Linked DNA regions of Homo sapiens: region 2 is linked to region 1. Evidence: promoter capture Hi-C in human tissues and cell types (Jung and others, 2019). All regions are on one chromosome and are shown on one strand. Each heading gives the region's core, a stretch centred on a gene start or on the middle of the fragment in contact. The rest is flanking DNA. Distances are from core to core; before and after follow the strand shown.

Evidence for each region. The method cuts DNA at HindIII sites, captures the fragments that hold promoters and counts their contacts. A contact is called where the count stands out against the background at its distance.
Region 2: a fragment that was not itself captured here is called in contact with the fragment with the promoter of BRINP2 in region 1 in 3 of the 25 tissues and cell types used here (dorsolateral prefrontal cortex, hippocampus and psoas muscle).

Annotation. Positions count from the first base shown.
Region 1 is chr1:177,168,774-177,174,531 of GRCh38, reverse strand. It overlaps BRINP2 (BMP/retinoic acid inducible neural specific 2), which reads right to left and starts at 3,574. Exons shown (of 8, transcript NM_021165.4): 1 at 2,800-3,574. RefSeq lists enhancers at 2,758-3,346, 3,347-3,936. The HindIII fragment of the contact is 8,375 bases long and covers 1-5,758 here.
Region 2 is chr1:177,067,462-177,073,219 of GRCh38, reverse strand. All of the region lies in intron 1 of ASTN1 (astrotactin 1), which reads left to right. Among named protein-coding and RNA genes, the nearest start is that of MIR488, 41 kb to the right of the region's middle. The HindIII fragment of the contact is 4,144 bases long and covers 152-4,295 here.

The DNA of each region.
Region 1 (5,758 bases), core at 2,325-4,824:
AGATGAACTAGGTCAGCCTTGTGAATTCTCTGGTATTGAATTGCTGTTTAGAACCTACATCATCATTTCCCTTTTGTCAGATGGGAGCCTAGTTTCCTAACTAGACTGCAAGATCACTGAAGGCAAGGGCAAAGGCCTATGAGACTTTTATTCTTCACTGCTTTTAAGTTAGTCCCGGAGGAGAAACCTTGTGTCATTGTAACATCTCCATCCTTACAAAGTACAGAACAACTAAATCAGATTATAATTACTAAAATCAAACCATTCCTTAGAAGAAGCCCATGGAGTCTGGGGTTGGTTCAGGAGCAGTGAGACCCAGATCCAATTCCACAGTGTCCCTTAAGTGCTGTGTGACCCTGCATAAAGCAGTTCCTCTTTCTGAGGTTCTCTGCCCTCCCTTTTCCAAGAAGGGGGCTAAAATCATTTTAGCTTTACTTCTTAGGGTAATCAAAGATAAATGAGACAATAAGCCGTGTGAGGATTAATTAGATGAGCTCTGGAAAGTGCTGTCAGCCCTTTGGAAGAGGATGCCATTATAAAATGTATACAAGGTCTTATTATTTAAGAGAAAGAGTTGAATCACCAAAAATACACTGCGCAGTGGGGAAAACAAAACACTAACCAGGAAACCTCAACTAAGCATCCCAGTCAGCAGAAAGTGCCCACGCAGATGTCTCAAGTCCCTCCAGATTACCTCTTGTTTGTGAGTTGGGGAGGGATTTCAGAGCAGTGCCTCAAGGGAGTGTATCATTTTTCTGTGATGCTCTCCAGTGGCCAGCCTGTGTCTTGGGAAAGGGGATCAGGAGAAGGTGATGACACAGGGTTGTTCTTTGCCCTTTGGCCTTGTTCAGTAAACAACCTGTCAGGAGGCCAGAAAGGAGCACGTAGAAGATAATTTTGAGGGCCAAAAAGGGAAGATGCTCCCCATCTTTGAGACCAGCCCCATGCTGACAGAGCAGGAACCTTCCTCCTTCCCCAGCCCTTTTCTCCTCACCTCCTTTCTTGTGCCCACACTGCAGCACACATCACTCCATTCTGGGAGACAAAGCCAGCTCCATTTTTGGTGAAGAGGGGAAGTAAGAGTCAAGAATGCTCCTGTCTTCTCCATGGCTGCAGCCCAGCTGTCAAACACTTTGGCGCCAGCTGACCTCCAGAAGGGGAGACTATGGTGTGACATTTGCTTCCTTTATCTCAAATATTTCACAATATACATGCTCTGTGCCTTTTCAAATTATATCCTCCTCAAAGAAGCAAGGCATGCATCTTTTCCTAGAGTAGGCAGCAGCTCTGATATTGATAAGACAGGATCATTGTGGCAGCATGTCTCGGTCATGCCCTCAGTGCTGCAAAGCAACTTATTCTGGGTGAAGGGGGACTCCAGAGGGTCATGCCTTAAACAAATAACATACACACAACTGTGTGAGTCAGGAGGGAAAGCACACAAACTCCAGCATCACTTTGCTGTTGCCTGATGTCATCAGACTGCCCCCCGGGGGATTTGGTATACTTTAGTTGCTTGGTTAATACTGGCATTGCATGTATTTTAGCGAGCATGGTCAGAGAGAGTCACTTCAACATGCACATGTCTGGAGAAGGACAGAAGCAGAAATACTTGACTTATAATATACCTTTTATCCCTCTGATTGGTCTATGCTGACATAACAATGTCCCTGCTGAATAAGGCCTAGATTACCCAACTATAAGCTTGACCTTTTATAATTGTTATCCTTTTAACAAAACATTTGTTTCTGCTCATAGCACCCTGCTCCTAGGGCTGCAAAGAGCACACACACAATTCTTTACAGAGGGGTCTGTTCAATCACATTACAGTGCATTAGCTTGAACATTGGTTAACATTTGGCTTAGGTCTATATACCCTGGATAAATATGTACCATGCAGAGGGACTGCTTGGTGAGGAGAAGAGTCCTCTGGGCTGGAACAACAGCTCACAAGTTCGTGTTCCTACTAGGCAGGAACACTCCAGGCATCCGTGATTTGGACAGGGTGCTGGACATGCTTGGTTCTTCTGTGGGCAGCCTGTTTCCTGCATACAGCTGTGAGCACAAGCACACATACATACACACACCACAGGCAGCATTCGACAGTGTACCCAGATGATCACAAAAACAGAGACAGAGATCTGCTAGATGATACCAGCACATCCCACCTTTCAGCACAGCAATGTTCTTCCCTAGTGTCTCCAGTGCTCTGCCAGGCTCAAGTCAATCAATGGGGCTTCTGCCACCACCCTGGGGAGACTATTTGCAACCTACAGGGTTCACTGTTTGGAATTTTATTTTCCTGACTGCATGTGCATGGGAAACATGCCATAGGGCTCTATGAGCACGATAATATAGATATCGTGCATTGTAACCTCAGCTCTTTGGGCTCCTTCCCAAACATAATGAACCTCCCAGCGTCAGCTGGGCAGGCAAAAGTCCTCGTCATCTTCTGCAATTATGCAGCCCTATTGAATTTTCTGAAGCTAATAGGAGTTGCACTAACTTTGAGGACTTAAACCAGGCAAAAGCAATATAGGTCAGGCAGGGAGCCCAAACCCTCTGACAGCCATGCAACACCAGGAGGCAATACCAGAGCAATCTCTAGCTCAACCCCAAAGTCCATTGCTCAACTCCACAAGACAGAAACTAGGAGAGGTGGCATCATTCCCTCTGCCTGCCACTGCCAGGCACCAGGGCAAGAGGGTTGTATGAGAGCAAAATGGTCCCTTTACCAACGGACACACCAAAAAGGACAATGAAAAGGGGAGAAAAATCACCGAAACCCTGCACTGTTACCTTGAATCCTTGCAAGAGCCCTCCTTGCTGTATCAGCTGCTCCCCAAACCTTCAACGACTGGGAGGAGACTCCTAAAAGATTCCAGGTTTTTGTGCAACATCTCCAGTGGCAGCTTTCCAAAGTTTTTACTTCATGATTTCTTGTGGTTCTTTCTCATTTGGGGAAACGCGAATGCCTCCCCCTCAGCGTGTGAGAGGGAGCGGATGTCTCTTTTCAAATTCTCTTGCTCCCCGCTTTACTGTCGGTGCCGCCGCCGCCGCCACCGCCACCGCCGCCAACGTTAGACCACTTGCCTGCTGCCTTCCCGCTGAGCAGCCAGGATCCCGGTCTCCCAGAGCATCTTTGAAGTGGGGCTTCGGCACTGGGCCGGGGCGCACGCGGGGTGGGAGAGGTAAGGGAAGTGCAAGACCCAACTGGGGGAGTCCCCTGTCCCTCCGCCGAGGAGAAACCCAAGATTTTGCCTTCTTTCCAACTCTAAAGAGACTCACCCACCCGCTCTCTCACCCGAAATCACTGCCTTGCACATGGGCAGAGACAGGTCTTCCGGCTTCACCGCTCCCTCGGCTGCCTGCAGACCTGCCACTGACCTCGGAGCGCACGGCAGGTGCACATCCCCGGGCAAGTCCTAATGGGATCCTCCGAGCTCAGCGTAAGCGCTGCCAGCGCAGCGGCGAGCAGCTTGCGAGGCAGGCGGATTGCATCCCAGAGCTGCAGCCCGGCGCGTCCCCGCTCCGACTCCGCGCTCCGTACCTAAGCAGTGTCACCTGCAGACTCAGACACCAGATGAGTGTCTTAAGATAACAATGCTGCCCTGCCTGCCTCTCTCTTTCTTTCTTATGCATGTAGGTTGGCAGCCAATGGGACACAGCGCCACACTCCCCACAGGTGCCCATTGGCTGGGCGGCTTGGCAGGGGGCGGGCTCTGAGCCTCACCGCTCTCTCCTTTGGTGAGCTGGCAGGCTGGGGTACCAGCTCTGTTAACCCTCCCAGCGTTGCAGTGGGGACTTTTTGGTGTGTATAAGGAAGCCTTGGGTACATTCACGGGTGGGGCGTTGGACACTCTTAAAAAGGCTGGGGAACAAGAAGTAGCTGGGGAGCTAATTACATTTTCTTCTAATCTTCCTGAGTTACAATAATCATTTATCCCAGCCCATTTTGTTTGCTTGCTTAACTAGAACTCCCAGAGATTGGGACCCATCTGAGCCATTTTCCATCTAATTTGAGGTTTCATTTGGTTGTTTTGTGCATTTTTTAGCCTCTTGGATTACTTAATTAGAAATGAGCCCCCAAGTGAGAAATAGTACACACACACACACACACACACACACACACACACACCCCAGAGACCCAAGAGGAGAGAGAGGCAAAAGAGAGCAAGAACCCAGTAAGATGGCTAGAGAGTGAAACAGATTTAGAGGCCAGGACAGCTAAATCAGGAAACATTCTGCCCCCACACCAGGACTGTAAGGACAAAGGCAAAGAGGAGAACTTCAGGTTTCTGGGGAGAGATTAAGTTTCAAAAATGTCCCTCCAAAAAAGGGAATTGTTTTGCCTGTGGTGTTTTCCCTCTGTGTGTCTCCTTTCACTTCTGTGTGTGTCAGGAAGAGGGACTGTGCATCTCCGTTTAGTTTTTAAAGGAAGACTAGAGAAATCAGAACAGGACCAGCCTTGTTTCTGTGAAGCAGGTGCTGTTGCTGGGCCTGTGAATTGAAAGAGAGGGAGGGAGGAAAAAAGGGAGGGAGGTGGAGGGAAAAGGGAGGAAAGGAGAAGGGAAGAAAATATTAACTTTACATTGAAGTGTGAAGTATATATTTTTGATATCCTAATGAGGGTACAAAACTGAAACATGTCCCGCTAACTAGCATACTAAACTAGATTTTGGCAGGAGCATAGGAAAAAGAGTAATAGTTGAAGAAAAATCCAATTCAAGGGAAGAGCTGGGGGCTGGAGCTGGGGAAGGAACTTGGGAGATCCATGCTAAGTCATGTGGTGGGGGAAGTATGAAGAAGATAAATATATAGTCAGAAAGCGAGAGGAGTCTTTCAATTTAGTTTCCTTAAATGGAGAGCAACATCGGAGATTATTTTGTAAAGAACTAGAAAAAAAAAGTATGTAGAGATTTAATGAATGTGTAAGAAGTACACATGGAGATTAGCTAAACTGCATCAAGTAGCCGTAAGTTCTGAATGAATAAAGAAAAATTAGAAATTTTCTTCATTCATCCCCTCAGACTCACACATCTATCACTTTCACCTATATTTTCTTCTCTGTATCTTATACAACGTTGAACTTCCTTCTGCATACTGCAAGTATCTGTTTGCCTAAGCTACAAAACATGTCAGAGAATGGTGGTCCCACAGGGTCCTGAGCTCTCTTTCTAGAATAAAATAACCAAGAGAACCACTGAGAGCCTAAATCTATTGCTACCCAACTGCTGAGTTATTTACTTTTGTGATTTCTAGAGGCAGAGACCCACTGAACTTGTCCCAAGTGACAACATACTGAAATGTTAAAATAGCATAAGGGAGTGGGTAAATAGAGGGAGAGGTTGAACAAAGGATTGCTAATTTCAATGGAAAGAAAGTTAAAATTTCCAAAATCTGTAAAAGAGAGAGGAAAGAGGTGATGGCAGATAAGAAGACAACTTGAAAAAGAAAACTTGCTTGTACTTTCTTCTCCTATAAAGTCTGAAGCCGTGTAAAAAATTTTAAAGAGGCAGAATATACATTAAGAATTGCCACAAGTGTATAGTTTAATTCTTGCCTATATATGCATCAATGTAACCATTACTCACTTTATTTCCAGCACTGCAGGAAGCATGTTCGTGAACGTTCTCAGTCAAAACCCTCCACTCCCCAGAGATAATTATATTCTGACTTCCATCACCAAAGATTAATGTTACTTGCTCTTGAACTTTGTAAATATAGGATCTTAGAGTATACACTCTTTTGTGTCTTG
Region 2 (5,758 bases), core at 974-3,473, 100 kb after region 1:
TGTCTGGGAGGATGAATGTCCCCTGGCACAGAATTACCTTCCAGCTCTGTGCCTTTTTGGCTCCAGAATGAGGAGTAGATGGAGAAGCTACCAATGCTGTATACCTCTCCCTAATTTCTGTCTTTGTGTCCTGATTTAAGGTGAATCATCCATTCATTCCAGTTACTGTCACTTTTGTTTACAATCTAGCTTATATGTGAAACTACAGCCATATTCCTTTGGGACGTGCTCTTACACATCAGAGGAAGAAAACCCAGCACTTTTTTTTTTCATTTTGCAAAACGCAACTAACATTGTTTTAGTTAAAATCTCAAACTAATGGGCCAGTGCTACCGTGAAGTATGAGAATATGAACACAGACATTCAAACACAAGCAGCACTACAGTGACCAGCACACGTAGGTGTGAGGAGTGGCACCACTGATGGGTGCCACATGGTGCATAGACTTCATCTATTTTCTGAAAGACGTTATTCATGTAGAATGCATGGCTCCTGTTTCTTATTACCAGCCCCTTAAAGTGTATTTTGTTTGGAGGGCTTGTAGAGGAGGGAGGGCTTTAGAATTAAGATAGAAAATACAGAAGGGGCAATAATAAAGAAACTGTTCTGTCAATGTATGTTATTCTCAGCTGAGCAACAAGATACCTTAGCAATCAAGTGACCTTGTATTTCTTTTAAATCATTCTCCCAGCAGGGATTAGATGGCTAAATCAACGTTTCCATGGAGCTATGCCTGTCAGGTCATTTAGAGGTCATCTTAACCCCTTCAGTGATGAGTACCTTACACAAATTAGCCTACAGAAATGGGCCCAAGGCAGTGTGGAGAGTCTTTAGACCAGTAACAAACCAAATACTATGCAGATGTGATTCTTCAGGAGAGTCTGTCACAATGAAATCACATCAGATTGCCATATGATTTGTACACTAGTGTGAATAGGTTAATAACTCAATTTCAGTCTTGGATCTATAAGCCCAAACTCTTCAAACTCCTGACAGTGTTTACTATTGATGTATATCTTCTGTATACCTAATTCATTAAGCTGAAATACAAGCATAGTGGCTCATGATTTCTCAGTGTAAATAAACATCGGTTTGGTAGACAGCACAGTCTGTAGCAAGAGCACTGTGCCAGGAGTCAGAAGGCTGTTATCTCCATCTTATTAGCTCTAACCCTTGAAATTGTCACTTACCCTCATTGGCCTTCTGGTTTCTAATTCTGTAAAGCCTACCACACAGAAATGATGAATGAAGAGAGGACCTTAGAAGAAAGGCCTTTGCAAGTTGTAACACAGGGATGATAATAAGGTATTCTTCACGTGCTTGAGTCTTTGTGGAATTCCCTCTACACTCCACTTTCTCAGGCTGAATGATGCCACAGAGATACCTAAGATTACTATCATGTCTCAGCCTTACTCTGAAGGAACTTGAGGTCCAGCCCCCATTATGGCAATTGCAAATCACAGAGAGACAAAAAATACCAGAAAGGTTTAGAGTGAGAAGAAGCTTTACAGGTCACTTATGCCCACTTTTCTGTAGGAGAAAATGGCTTATAAAGAAGAGCCAAGAGAAATGACTGGCCCTCCAGCTTGGGCTCCCTGGCTGTTTGTATGTGCAAGAAGGCAGTGCTCAGGGTCAGCAAGGTAAGCTTAGGCCTCTGTAGGAATGGGGTGGAAAGCCTGTTCCCTAGAATGAGGATGAGAATGGAAGGTTGTACTTGAGTGCAGTACTTCTTGGCATTTATGATGACAGGTGCTCACACAGACTAGTCTACAGAGAAGGACTCAGTTTACTACTGATAAAAGCATAACTGTTATTTTAATATTGCATCCATTTGCTCCTTCCCTCTTCCCTGACCACAATCACCACCCTGATGTCCTGGAAGGAACTGCCCATTTGAATTCATGAGTGCCTTGCTAAGTGCCTGACAACAAGCTCCCTGGGGCTGGCCTTGCATGCCAGCCTAGAATGGGCCTAGATAGCATGGCATCCCTCTGTGAAAGCCCCCATAGCCAAGTCTTAAAGCATAAATAGTGTACGTGGAGTTTTATCAGAGACATCTAAAGATTGTTCAATTTGCTAATGAGTACTTACAGAAATGTACAAATACGACTTGCCCTGGGCTTCTCAACTGGAACTGAGCTGATTCCTGGACTTATAGTTCCTGGACTTATGAAGACGTTTAAGCAGCTGAAGCTATTTAAAGGTATAATTTGCTTAATTCTGTCAAAGATTGTTGCTCAATTTTAGGATTTATGTGAGTGATAGTAATAATGACAACAAACAGTATTAATGATATTGATGATGATATTAGTGTTAAACTCCAGGTACTGCTAAGCACTTTGTTTGTATTATCCCAAGACTGAGATTTGCAAAGTGAGGGAATGAACGTTGAGATAGTGAAAAACAACAGTGGCCTTAAAACCAGGAGACCTAAGATTCCCCACTCAATTGCCACTCCCACCCCTACCATTCTAATATTTACTCACGGGGTGAACTTGGTCAAGTAGGTTGACTATTCTGGAACTCAAGTTCCTCATCTCTAAAATACAGATATACATACTCACACGAAAGGGTCATTGTGTATTAAGTTAGTTCATGAATACTGAAAGGGCTTCTTAGCAGAGCCAGTGCATACATTATTACTTGTTGAGTTGAATCTTAGATGATAAGAACAGAAATACAAGTGGATGAGAACTAATTAGAAATGGAGATGAATGAAAACAGTTTAGGACAGGCAACAGGCTATTCTTTTGTAACTCATTTACAGGTGATATTTAGTCATTTTCAATTCTTTTTTCCATTCATTTTATAAGGCAAGAGCCATAGAGAGGACCTTACTGAAATCGTTTAGGATCAGAAAATTATAGCAAATACTAATCTCTTTGTTAATGAAAGACCAGGAGTATAAGACAGAGGATTTGGAATGAACAGATCTCTCACTGGGTCTAGTATACAGTTTTCTTACAATCACCCTGTGACCAGTGTTTTGACTTTTTCCAAAATTCCGGCATCCATGTTGCTCCCAACACATCACTGCAGGAGAGTGGCCCTCAAGGACTTGCAAAGCTCAAATCAGAATTCCAGTCGTGAAACTTCAGGCTTCAAAATGACTTATTCTCATTACAATGTATGAAATGATCTGTAAATACATATTTTAACATTATGGAGTTTAAATATTATTACATACCTTACTTGATGTCAGATTCCATTAAATGCCTGCTGTTATCTCAATTTACAAAAGTCAGTCGGGTGGCAGTGGAGAATAGAAATAGATATAAGTAAAAAATCCTTTTACCAGTGTATTTGCAGCTCAGATAACCCTGCCTTTTTCAAAAAGCTTTGGGCTTTTTTTTTTTTCTTTATCCTTTCAAATGAGACTTTAATGAGTATCATGTGGATAAACTCTTTGCAGAGGTTTGAAAAGATCCAGAGAAACACTGTGGTAGGAACAAGCAAATCAGTTTGGATGAAATCACAAGTCATTCGAATGCCTCCTCATCTGTCTGGTTGTGTCAGAACCTTTTGGCTGCATTTTTCCCCCACAGGAATGTTTTCATCTCCATGGCTAGGTAAATAGAATGTTCATGTAGTTGCTCGATTGCTATTCATGCCAGTACAGAGTAGCGTAGAGTGACCTACTTCCAGCAGCATCCATAGAAAGCTTCACTGCTTTCCATCAAGACTGATTTAAAAAGCCACCCTCTGCTTCCCACAGCTCCCACCCCCAACTGCCCCCAGAGACAACAAACTATGGACTCTCCAGGGTGCTTATTTCCTTTCTCTCATCACTCCTGCTTCTTCAGTTGGTTCGTTTTAGTCCATCCTAGCCTTTCGGCAAAGGAGAAGCGGGTGGATGGGCAGCTTCAAAAGAAGTTAACATTGCAGATTTTTAGAGTCTAGTTCTACAAAGCGGGGAGCCACTGAGAGAGAGATCAGGCTACTCTTATCCACAGAAACAAAACTGATCAAAGGTTAATAATTCATTGAAAATTATTTGGAAGCATCTATATGTGGGTGATCTTTTTCTTACTGGGGACTGTTGATTGGAGTTTCAATAGGTCACTCTCATGAGTTTCAATACAGCCACTCCTTACCTTATAAATTGATAGGCTGGATTGAGCTGAAACATTCTAGCACTTTGAGAGGCTGAGGTGGGCAGATTGCTTGAGCCGGGATATTGTGACCAGCCTGGGCAACATGGTGAAACCTCGTCTCATAATAATACAAATATTAGCAGGGCATGGTGGCATGTACCTACCTGTAGTCCCAGCTGCTTGGGAAGCTGAGGTAGGAAAATCATCTGAGCCCCATAGGTAGAGGCTGAAGTGAGCTGAGATCATGCCACTGCACTCCAGCGGGGCACTGGAGTGAGATCCTATCTCAAAAAAAAAAAAAAAAGAAAAGAAAGAAGGAAAAAAAGAAAAATCCAAACTCCAAGAGAAAACGTCTGATTCTAAAAATTTCTGCAAAGACATTTATCCAGGTGCCATACAGAAAAAACAGCGTGCATCTGACTTGGGGCCTAACTAGAGCCAAGTGTCATGTTTGGTTTTGTGTCATTGAATAACATGGTTAGAGCTGGACAATTCCTAGAGAAATCTAGTCCCATGGTTTGAAGATGAGAAAGTGAGCTCCAGGGAGCTTACAACACTCCCATTCTCCAGGCTTCCTGTCCAGTGCTTTCTCTAACCTGCCATTGTTTCTCATCACTGAATCACTCATGCTATGAGGCTCTGTTGTTTTTGCCTTTAAGGGTAATGTCACCAAGCAGGGAAATAGAAATTCAATTATCCTTCTCCTAGTCACAAGTGGATATTTCTATTCCAAATCCCAGCAAGTCAAGAAGATTTTGGTTCCTTGAAAAATGAACCTCCTGTGCTTCTGTTGGATGAGAGCTTTTTGAAATTTTAAGCTATTTTGCTCTAAAGCTTTTGTTCCACATAGTTCTGTGGCCATTGCTCAAGCCTGTTTGGAGAAAGAGGAATGAGAATGAGATGAGAGGAAGCAGCTCTACGGCAATGAGTTAACTACAGGAATCACAATGAGAACTCCTTTCCCAATTGTTCTCTGAACATCTTCGCAAAAGAGTTTCCTGGCTATGCTGTTTTCCATATTGCTGTTCACTTAGCCAGGCCAATATAGGCACAAACTTCAGGCAAACCATCAATGTTTCTGACATCTGTGCTGGCTGACTTCAGGCCGAGCAGGGTGTCCTGTTTTCTGTGGCTCTCATCTGGGATGCGGGATTTTAGCACTTAAGAACTCCGTACCAGATGGTCCCTATGGCGAGAGGCATGGAGGCTCAGCCAGCTCAGTCCAAGGGCCATTGTTTCCCGGGTTAGTCTCATTTCCTCACTTTTCCTGACTTTGTTCCTCCTCTCTGCATCTTTCTCCTTTGTCTGTTTTTCATCTGTCCCTCATCTTCCTTCACAGATGGCCAGGACATTAATGTGCTCCTGTCATTATGTTTATGAAACAAGTTGGGGTCTTTAGAGGATCCCTTTCCACAGACATTAAGACTTGGGTCACGCTTGATACTAAGGTGAAGATTTGCAGGATAATTAGTGATCCCCTACTGTTATTAACCCCTGACTTAAGCAGGTTATTTTCTTACAAAGGTGTTGAAAGTTAATACCGCTGTTAATAGTTTCAGTGAGAAGACCATTCTGAAACCATGTGGGAAACTAGACCTACCATCAATATCTTTCAAACTCTGAAATTAGAAGGAAAAAAAGAACAGAAGAGGGGGGTATTTCTA